2 separate regions of the Homo sapiens genome follow, and region 2 is linked to region 1. The links are contacts of gene promoters, found by promoter capture Hi-C in human tissues and cell types (Jung and others, 2019). All regions are on one chromosome and are shown on one strand. The core of a region is centred on a gene start or on the middle of the fragment in contact, and the rest is flanking DNA. Distances in the headings are between cores, read along the strand shown.

Region 1 (3,486 bases), core at 1-2,500:
ATGACCACAGAGAAGCACCTTTAATCTGAGCTCCCTCTGTAAAACGGAGACCACATGATCACTTGCCTCATAGAGGCAAGTAAGTTTTGCAAGTTGGTAAGAAAGCTCCTAGGCTGTATGCACTTAGCTCACCTGAACTGTGCTGGAGGCTGGAGTCAGCAGGCTGAAGAGCAGCCTGTCTTAGAAAGAGATTTGGAGTGAGAGTCACCAAAGGCTTGATTTTCTTTTCTTATTTATTTATTTTTTTAGAGACAGGGTCTCACTCTTTCGCCCAGGCCACAGTGCAGTGGTGCGATCATAGCTCACAGTAATCTAAAACTCCTGGGCTGAAGTGATCCTCCCACCTCTGCCTCCCAAAGGGTGGGATTACAGGCGTGAACCACTGCACCTGGCCTGTAGCCTGTTTTTCTATCCCAGCTCTGCCTTCATTGAACTGGGTAACTTTGGGCAAGTCCCTTCCTCTCTCTGGGCCTCCCTTTCTCCATCTGTGAGAAGGGAGTTGGACTACAGGAATCCTGACACCCTGCACCTGTCTCCAGACTGGGGTCTGCTTCTCCCTTCTGAGTCCGGAGTGGTGGGGATGGCCTGCTCTCAGACCTCAGTCTTACCTAGAGAAAAGAAGGTGGCAGGAAACCTTCCTAAGAAGGGTGGGACACTGCACAGCCGGCCTCCCAAAACACCTGGTTGAGCAGGTGCTCTGGATGCCCTGGGGGCAATCCATGCCCAGGTGGGCAACCGAGTCCTAACCTGAGGCAGATGCTGAGGGAAGACCCTCCATCAGGAACCCGCGGCTGATTGCGAAACGCCCCTTCCGCACCCGACGGAGGGGCTGGGATGGAGCCGACTCACCCAGCCACGCACTGTGCCTTTGCGCCCCAGCCGCGCACTCTTCCTCACTTTCCCGGGCTCCCCAGTGCTGCAGCCGGGAAGGGCAGAGCAGGGCAGGTCCCCGACACCGCGTGGGACCCGGCTCCGGGCGGCGCAGCCAACCTCCCTCCCGAGCCCATCGCCCCCTCCCGGGCGCCCAGGCCGTCTCAGGGGCTCCGTCCCGGGATACCTGCCGGCCCCGCGGGAAGGCAGGCGGCGGGGACCGGGCGAAGCCGGCCGACCCTGGCCCCCGCGCAGTGACCCCGGAGCCCCGCGCCTTACCCAGAACTTGGAGCCGAGCTCCCCGGAACCGCACAGGGCGTCCATGGGGCCGAGGCGCGGCTGCAAGGAAGGCGAGCGCGGTCGGACCCAGCGGCGGGCAGAGCGGGCGCCGGAGCCGCCTCCGCCCTCCGCACCCCGCGCTCCGCCCGGACCCGCCCTGCCGAGCCCTACCCCAGTGCCTCTGGGTCCGGTCTCCCTGCCCCCGTCCCGCGGGTTGCGACAGCGCCTCCCTGGGAGGGACTTTGGGGCAGAGGTGGGGGGGCCCTTGGCACGGCGACAGCCCCTGCGAGCGGCCCCTGGGCCAAGCCAGGGGGATGTCTCTCTAAATACCGAGGCTAACAGTCCAGGAGTCGAGTCTATTTCCAAGGGGGAACTGGGATACACAGGCGCTCCCACTCCCGAACAAGTCCGTGGGGCCGATGAGTCATTGAGTAGGGGACGTAGGGAGAGGGATTTAACAATCTTTCCTAGTAAAAAAGGAATCTTTGAGAAGGTCACGTTCCTCTCCGGAGGTCAGTTTCCTCATCTGTAAAATGGGAAGGGCTTCTGTGCTCAATCAGGAAGCTGACCTCTTCCCCATCAGGTTCCAGAGACCACTGGCAGGCGCCACACGGGGAGCACACGGGGTGTGCTCCGCGGGTGTGTACCCGTGAGGCGGGGGTGGGGGCCGCAGCATCGTCCAGCGGGGGCCTCTTATGTCCTCTTAAACTGCTGCCCTCTTAGGCTCTGTGGCTCCCTGACCTTGCCACATCACCTCGGCACGTCTCTGGGCCTCTACTTTCACATCCGTAAAATAGAGACAATCATAGAAGAGAATCTTCCTCCCAGGGTTCTCTGAGGATTGAATGGAAAGGGTAGGCAAAGCGTATTTCCTGGCACACTTAGTGGGCACCCAACATGTGTGAATTCCCTCTGCTTCAGCCTGATCAGGGTTGGGGGGGGAAGGACAGGTGAAGCCCCAGGAGGAGCCCCACGTGAGTGTCCTCGTCCTCGTCCTCCTCCTAAGGCTGAAACTCTACATTCCTGATCTGTAAAATGGGCTTGTCAGTGCTCTCCTTCTCCTGCTTGCCTCAGCTCTCCTTCTCCCGGTATCCCCTCAGATGCGGGGATCCCTCCATCTCTCAATCCCGCTGTTGCCCTGTCTTCCTTAACACAATCCCAGACGCCAACTCAGCACCGCTTGTTGGGGCTCAGAAGGAATTCTCCCTGGCAAATCTTTCCCTGGCCCTTCTCTTCCCTGCCTTTGCCCACAGGTCTGTCCAGTTTCACCCCGGTGACCCCTTTTCTGGCCCTTGTTCTCAAGAGAAGGTGTTTCCTTCCTTGGCTGCTCAGCGGCAGGTGTGGGTGGGAGCCAGTAAGAGTGCAGAAGGGGCAAGCCACCTCCTATCTCTCTGGGCAGCCAGGAGGTCACTAGAAGGGAAGTCTCCTTGGCTATAGGCTATCAGAACCAAGATCTGGCTGGGCATGGGATAGGGGTGGGAGTGGAGAAGATTCCCCTTTCCCAGGCAGTCAGACCAGGGACTTCTACCCCTCCACTGGGCAAGTTCTTTCAGCCCCTTCTTTGTCTGCCCTCTTCCTTTCCACTCATCCACACATACCCTCCCTCTCCTGTCCCCCTACCTTCATCTCTGGGCAAAATACTTTACAGAGCTTTACACCTTGTTACGGCGTGCCTTGGATTATATTTAGTTATGAAGAGTCTGTCTTCCCTGCTAATCTGAGAGGTCCCCAAGGGCAGGGACTAACTCAGTCCCCTCCAATCCCCCTCCATACCTTTTATACACTGTGTGATCTCAATAAGCTCCTTGATGCCTCTGGGACTTCATTTCTTGAGAAACGTGGACAGGGTGATATCTAAGCTCTCTTCCAGCCCTGGTGGGCCAGGCTTCTATGGCCTAGGCAGCTGGGAACCTTCCTCCACCCCTTCCATGACCCTGGTCATGGCTTCATCAGCACCCACTGCCCCTGTGTTTTGACCTTGTCTACCCACCGGCTTCCTCCAACTCTCCCTCCTCTCCCATTCCTTTTCTAGGGCTTGTGGGGTCATAGGCACCAGATTGCTCTGGGCTTGAGGAGACCTGGGGACTTTCCTTTAGGGCCCTTTGGGAGGTGAGCTCCCCAATCAGACCTCCTTTCTGAGATGGAGAGCCCAGAACTAGCCTGAGCTTCCGTCCGGGACTTTCCAGCCCCACAGTTGGCCAGGCAGTGCACTGGCTGGAGCTCTAGTTTTGGGCTAGGACCCTTGGGTTCTGGCTTCAGCATCGGAGCTGAAGCACCATCCCTTGCAGCCCCAGGCTTTTCTATCGCTATTGCTTTCCCAAGGCTATAGCACTGGGT
Region 2 (5,449 bases), core at 2,917-5,416, 150 kb before region 1:
ACATTCCCCTCTCTCCTGCCTCAGAGGTCTCGGTACTTGCCACTGCCTCTTTCCCCTCGCTCTTGGCCTGGCTAAATCCATCATTTGGGTCACAGCTTAAATGTTCTTCCAGAGGCCTTCCCGGGACCCCCACCCACCCCACCCCTATGAATTGTCTTCTCTGCCATCCTCCCTCCTCCTACCCTGTTCTTTCCCTTTCCAGTGCTCCTTTTAATCACGTACGTAATCCTGTGGTTATTGGTTTAACGTCTGCTCCATTAGATCACCAGGGAGCAGGGCCCGACAGGCTGTGTGGGGTCAAGTCCCTGTTATTCCCATCTAGACCTGTGTGAACTGGGGAAAGCTAGTAAACCACTGGGCCTCAGTCTCTTCCTTGGAAAAATGGCAGTAAGGCCCAAGGCAATCCTCCAGGTAGAGCGCTGAGCTCAGTGCCTGGCCCACTGTTCAGTACATGTTAGCTACTATGGGGGCCATGGAAAGGAGGCCAATGTATTTATCTGGAAGCGCTCAGGCTGTTCAGATGACTTCACTGTATTTGGCAAGCTCTCCGAGTGGCATAAACAAACAGCACTCTGAGTAGACTGCTCAAATGAGGCAGGTTTGAAACTGCCTCTTGGCAAATGCACATTCAGGGAAATTAGAGAGATGTGTGCATTTGCTGATTTTAGTTGCTTGTCATCCAAATACCAATCGAGAGGGGAGGATACAAATCTCAAGATGGGCTGGAGGCAGTGTTCCCCCTATGGAAGCCTAAGGGGGCCAAAGATCCAATTCCTGCAGGGGGTGCTTGGGAACTCAGCCTTGGTTCATCCTGCCTAGGACTTTGACACTGACTGAGGGTTATTGAGAAGCTGGGACCATTGAGGTGTCACTCCTCTAATGTTGGGGTCCCAGCTGCCACCATCAAAGGGCAGTGATGGTTGTGAGGTTGGCATGATTGTCCTCATAAGACCCTCCCTGTGATTCTGCCTCCCAGCCTTCTGGGTTCCTGCCCAATTTGTCAGGCTGGTTCCAGTTTACCCTGTGACTCTATGAACCATCCATCATCATTCCAGAAAATTATTTTTGGGCTATAGTTAACCAGGGTTGTTTTCTATTGTTTACAACCAGGATCGTCTCCCCTCCCAGAAGGGGCTGAGTACCAACCCTCAGAAAACCTCATCCACCACCTTGGCTCTGCCCTACTCATTACTGGGAGCATAAACTTCCCTAGGGTGCTATGGGGCGGGCATGTGTCAGTCTGTACTAGGAGTACCCTGAAAACAGGGCAAAAGATGTGCCAAGCTAGATTAGGAAATGTTAACCAGGCTTCTTTCTCTAGCATGTCATACCGCCCCGCCCCAATGCAGGTGGCAGCAAGGATGTCCTTGGGGCAGGAATGTTTCAGAAGAAATGAAGAGAAGCCAGTGGAGCTAGGTCTTGGATACTAGCTTCAAAGTTGAGGTCCTTGCCTCAGTAAAAACACTGATCACACGATGGCTCTCTCCTCCCCACTCCAGCCCTGTTGTCTGGGCTGCAGTAGGGGCACTGCAGAGCTCAGGGAGTAGAGGGGCGCAGTGGTGAAGGCACTTCCTGGTGAAGGCACTGAGGTACCATCTCCCAGAACACCCTCATGTCTCTACACGTAAGGAGACATGCTGCTGTGGCTTGTCTGGGCAGAGAGGGCCTGAGACAAACCCCTCCCCACAGTTTCCCATTGAAGTGGCTGAGAGAGGGTTCTGGGACCACATGAAGCTCAGGATCAGGATGGTATAACAAGGAGGCCAGGTGGGCCGCGGGCCCTCATGGTGAATGCTGATGGGATGGACACGGGCAGTAATGAATCCAGTGAGAACGGAAATCAGCAAATGATGCCCGATAGGGCCAGAGACCATCTTTACAGATACCAGCAGAGAAAACGAGAACGACCAAGATCAGAGCCCTCTCCCTGCTGACACCATTAGCTGGGACCCCAGGGCAAAGGGGGAGGCAAAAACTTAGAATTGACTGAAGAGGCCAGGCGTGGTAGCTCACACCTGTAGTCCCAGCACTTTGGGAGGCCAAGGCGGGTGGATCACAAGGTCAAGAGTTGGAATCGAGCCTGGCCAACATGGTGAAACCATGTCTCTACTAAGAATACAAAAATTAGCCAGGTATGGTGACACATGCCTGTAATCCCAGCTACTCGGGAGGCTGAGGCAGGAGAATCACTTGATCCCAGGAGGCAGAGGTTGCAGTGAGCAGAGATCGCACCACTGCATTCCAGCCTGGGTGACAGAGCAAGACTCCGTCGCAGAAAAAAAAGAATTGACTGAGGAAACCCTGAATTCTGTAATAAAAATGTTTCCACATCGTGCAACATGGGAAATGGAGGTGGAAATCCAAGTCAATTATAGAAAATAGAAACATTCACACTTCTGACTTTGTAACCCATGAAGCTTGTGCCCCTACAAGGAGATCTCACCCCCATGTAACCTGGGTGCCAACCCATTACCTAAGAAAACAGACAGGCCTGGAGAGCTTTAGGGAGAGTTGTGGAGGGACGGACTTTGAACTCTTGTAAAGTGACTTGCTTTTATTAGGCACCTACTGTATACCAGGCACATTGCTGAACACTATATATTATTTATTTTTCTTTTTTCTTTTCTTTTCTTTTTCTTTTTCTTTTTGGACAGTCTCACTCTGTTGCCCAGGCTGGAGTGCAGTGGTGCCATCTCAGCTCACTGCAACCTCCATCTCCCAGGTTCAGGTGATTCTCGTGCCTCAGGCTCCCGAACTATATATTATTTCTTTCTGTTTTTGTTTGTTTTGTTTTGTTTTTGAGACAGGGTCTCACTTGGTTGCCCAGGTTGGAGTGCAGTGGTGCGGTCTCAGCTCACTGCAAGCTCAGCCTCTGGAGTAACTGGGATCATAGGTATGTGTCACAACGCCTGGCTAATTTTTGTATTTTCACTAGAGACGGTGTTTCGCCATGTTGCCCAGGCTGGTCTCAAACTGCTGGCCTCAAGTGATCCGCCCGCCTTGGTCTCCCAAATTGCTGGGATTACAGGCATGAGCCACCATGCCCAGCCTACATATTCTTTCTAAGTGAGGTGGAAATTATTATTTTCTTTTTGCAGACAAGAAAACTACAACACAGTTGCTGAATGAGGGAGCCAGGGTGCATTGGGCTGATTTCCCACAGGACAGTTTATGGACTCCTTGGATAACCAGGAATACTGCTCTGCGGCTTTACACCCAAAGGTGGTGCTGGGAGAGATGGGAGACCAGGGAGGGACTGAATTAAAAATGCAGGTTCTTGGAGGAAGCTCAGGCAGGAGTGGGGCGGCCCCTGGTGGACACACGGAGAATGGCAACTCGGTGGTGCGGACCTGCCCTGCCCAGTGGCCTTGCATGGGAATGGCAGGGAAGGAAAGGGGCAGGCTCAAGAGGAGGTATTGAGAGGGGCTCCCATGTTGGAGCTCAGTCCTGGGACAGCAAAGGCTACTCCTGGGGCGCGGGGGCGGTATGGGAAGGGGCATTTCATGAGGACAGGCAAGAGGAAGGAAGCTGACCTTCACTGAGCGTTGACTATGCTCACAAGATACAGGTGGGAAATGATATCGACTTTTAAAACGGGCCCGCTGGGCGCGGTGGCTCATGTCTGTAATCCCAGCACTTTGGGAGGCCGAGGTGGGCAGATCACTTGAGGTCAGGAGTTCGAGACCAGCCTGGCCAGCATGGTGAAACCCCATCTCTACTAAAAATGCAAACAAATTAGTGGGGCATCATGGCACATGCCTGTAATCCCAGCTACCTGGGAGGCTGAGGCAGGAGAATCGCTTGAACCCGGAAGGCAGAGGTTGCAGTGAGCCAAGTTCCCACCACTGCGCTCCAGCCTGGGCGACAGACCAAGACTCCATCGCAAAAAAAAAAAAAAAAAAAAAAAAAAAAAAAAAAAGGGCAAAGATATCCAGGCACATGCGAACCAAAAGAAAACCAAGGTCATGACATGAAGCTCAAAAAATTATATGAAACACGACGGATCTCTTTGTACTGCTAAAAGGGAAAGACCCCAGAAAATAAAACGTGCACCAAGTAACATAATGTAAAACACATAGGCCGGGCGCGGTGGCTCACGCCTGTAATCCCAGCACTTTGGGAGGCCAAGGCGGGCGTCACGAGGTCAGGAGATCAAGACCATCCTGGCTAACACGGTGAAACCCGGTCTCTACTAAAAATACAAAAAATTAGCCGGGAGTGGTGGCAGGTGCCTGTAGTCCCAGCTACCTGGGAGGCTGAGGCAGGAGAATGGCGTGAACCCGGGAGGCGGAGCTTGCAGTGAGCCGAGATGGAGCCACTGCACTCCAGCCTGGGCAACAGAGCGAGACTCTGTCTCAAAAAAAAAAAAAAAAAAAAAAAAAAAAGTGCACATCAAGAAAGTGAAGAGACAATCCACAGAATGGGAGAAAATATTCATAAATCATATACCTGATCAGGGACTTGTAACCAGAATATGTAAAAAGGCTCTTACAACTCAATAAGAAGACAACCCAATTTTAAAATAGGCAAAGGCCAGGCTCGGTGGCTCATGCCTGTAATCCCAGCACTTTGGGAGGTCAAGGCAGGCAGAACACTTGACGTCAGGAGTCCTAGACAGCCTGGCCAACATGGTGAAACCCCATCTCTACTAAAAATACAAAAATTAGCCTGACACAGTGGCACGAGCCTGTAATCCCAGCTATTCGAGAGGCTGAAGCGGGAGGATCACTTCAGCCCGGAAGGCGGAGGTTGCAGTGAGCCAAGATCACATCACTGCGCTTCAGCCTGGGCGACAGAGTGAGACTCCGTCTCAAATAAAATAAAATAAAATAAAATAAAATAAAATAAAATAAAATAAAATAAAATAGGCAAATGATTTGAATAGATGTTTCTCTAAAGAAGACATGCAAATGGCCAATAAACACAAGAAGAGATGTTCAACATCACTAGTCATTAGGGAAATGCAAATCAAAACCAAAATAAGATACCACTTCACACTCACTGGTATAGCTACAGTTTAAAAGACAAATAAAAAATAGACCTTCTCAATCCCCCTGTCTCTGTGAACTTCCGCTGGGAAAAGCGATGCACTGGCGAAAGCCGTGTGAGGGGGGCCTTTGGCTCCAGAGAGACGGCGCGAGAGCCCCAGTGGGAACCACCCGGAGACCCAGAAGATCGAATTCGCCACTGCGCTGCGCGGCCGCCACACTCGCCGGGATCGGCCGGGTTTGAAGACGCGCCATGGAAGCCAGAGGGGTCTGACGATGGGGACCTCTCGGAGCGTCGTCGCCCTGCTACTGCGCCTTGGCGGCCGCGCTCCATCTGGAGGCTTCCTCGTGACGCATACGCAGCCTGGCCGCCAAGAAGACCGTCGCCTGCCTGGGACAGCCACCCTGGACACCCAGAAGCCAGGAGATTTCCAGTGAGGCCCTTCGCTTCCTTATCTTTT

What was found. The method cuts DNA at HindIII sites, captures the fragments that hold promoters and counts their contacts. A contact is called where the count stands out against the background at its distance.
Region 2: a contact is called between a fragment that was not itself captured here and the fragment with the promoter of ABCC3 in region 1, in 1 of the 25 tissues and cell types used here (mesendoderm cells).

Annotation. Positions count from the first base shown.
Region 1 is chr17:50,632,645-50,636,130 of GRCh38, reverse strand. It overlaps ABCC3 (ATP binding cassette subfamily C member 3), which reads right to left and starts at 1,250. Exons shown (of 31, transcript NM_003786.4): 1 at 1,150-1,250. The coding sequence starts at 1,194. RefSeq lists a silencer at 1,231-1,280. The HindIII fragment of the contact is 6,790 bases long and covers 1-3,486 here.
Region 2 is chr17:50,781,200-50,786,648 of GRCh38, reverse strand. No RefSeq gene overlaps it. Among named protein-coding and RNA genes, the nearest start is that of MIR8059, 15 kb to the right of the region's middle. The HindIII fragment of the contact is 7,282 bases long and covers 526-5,449 here.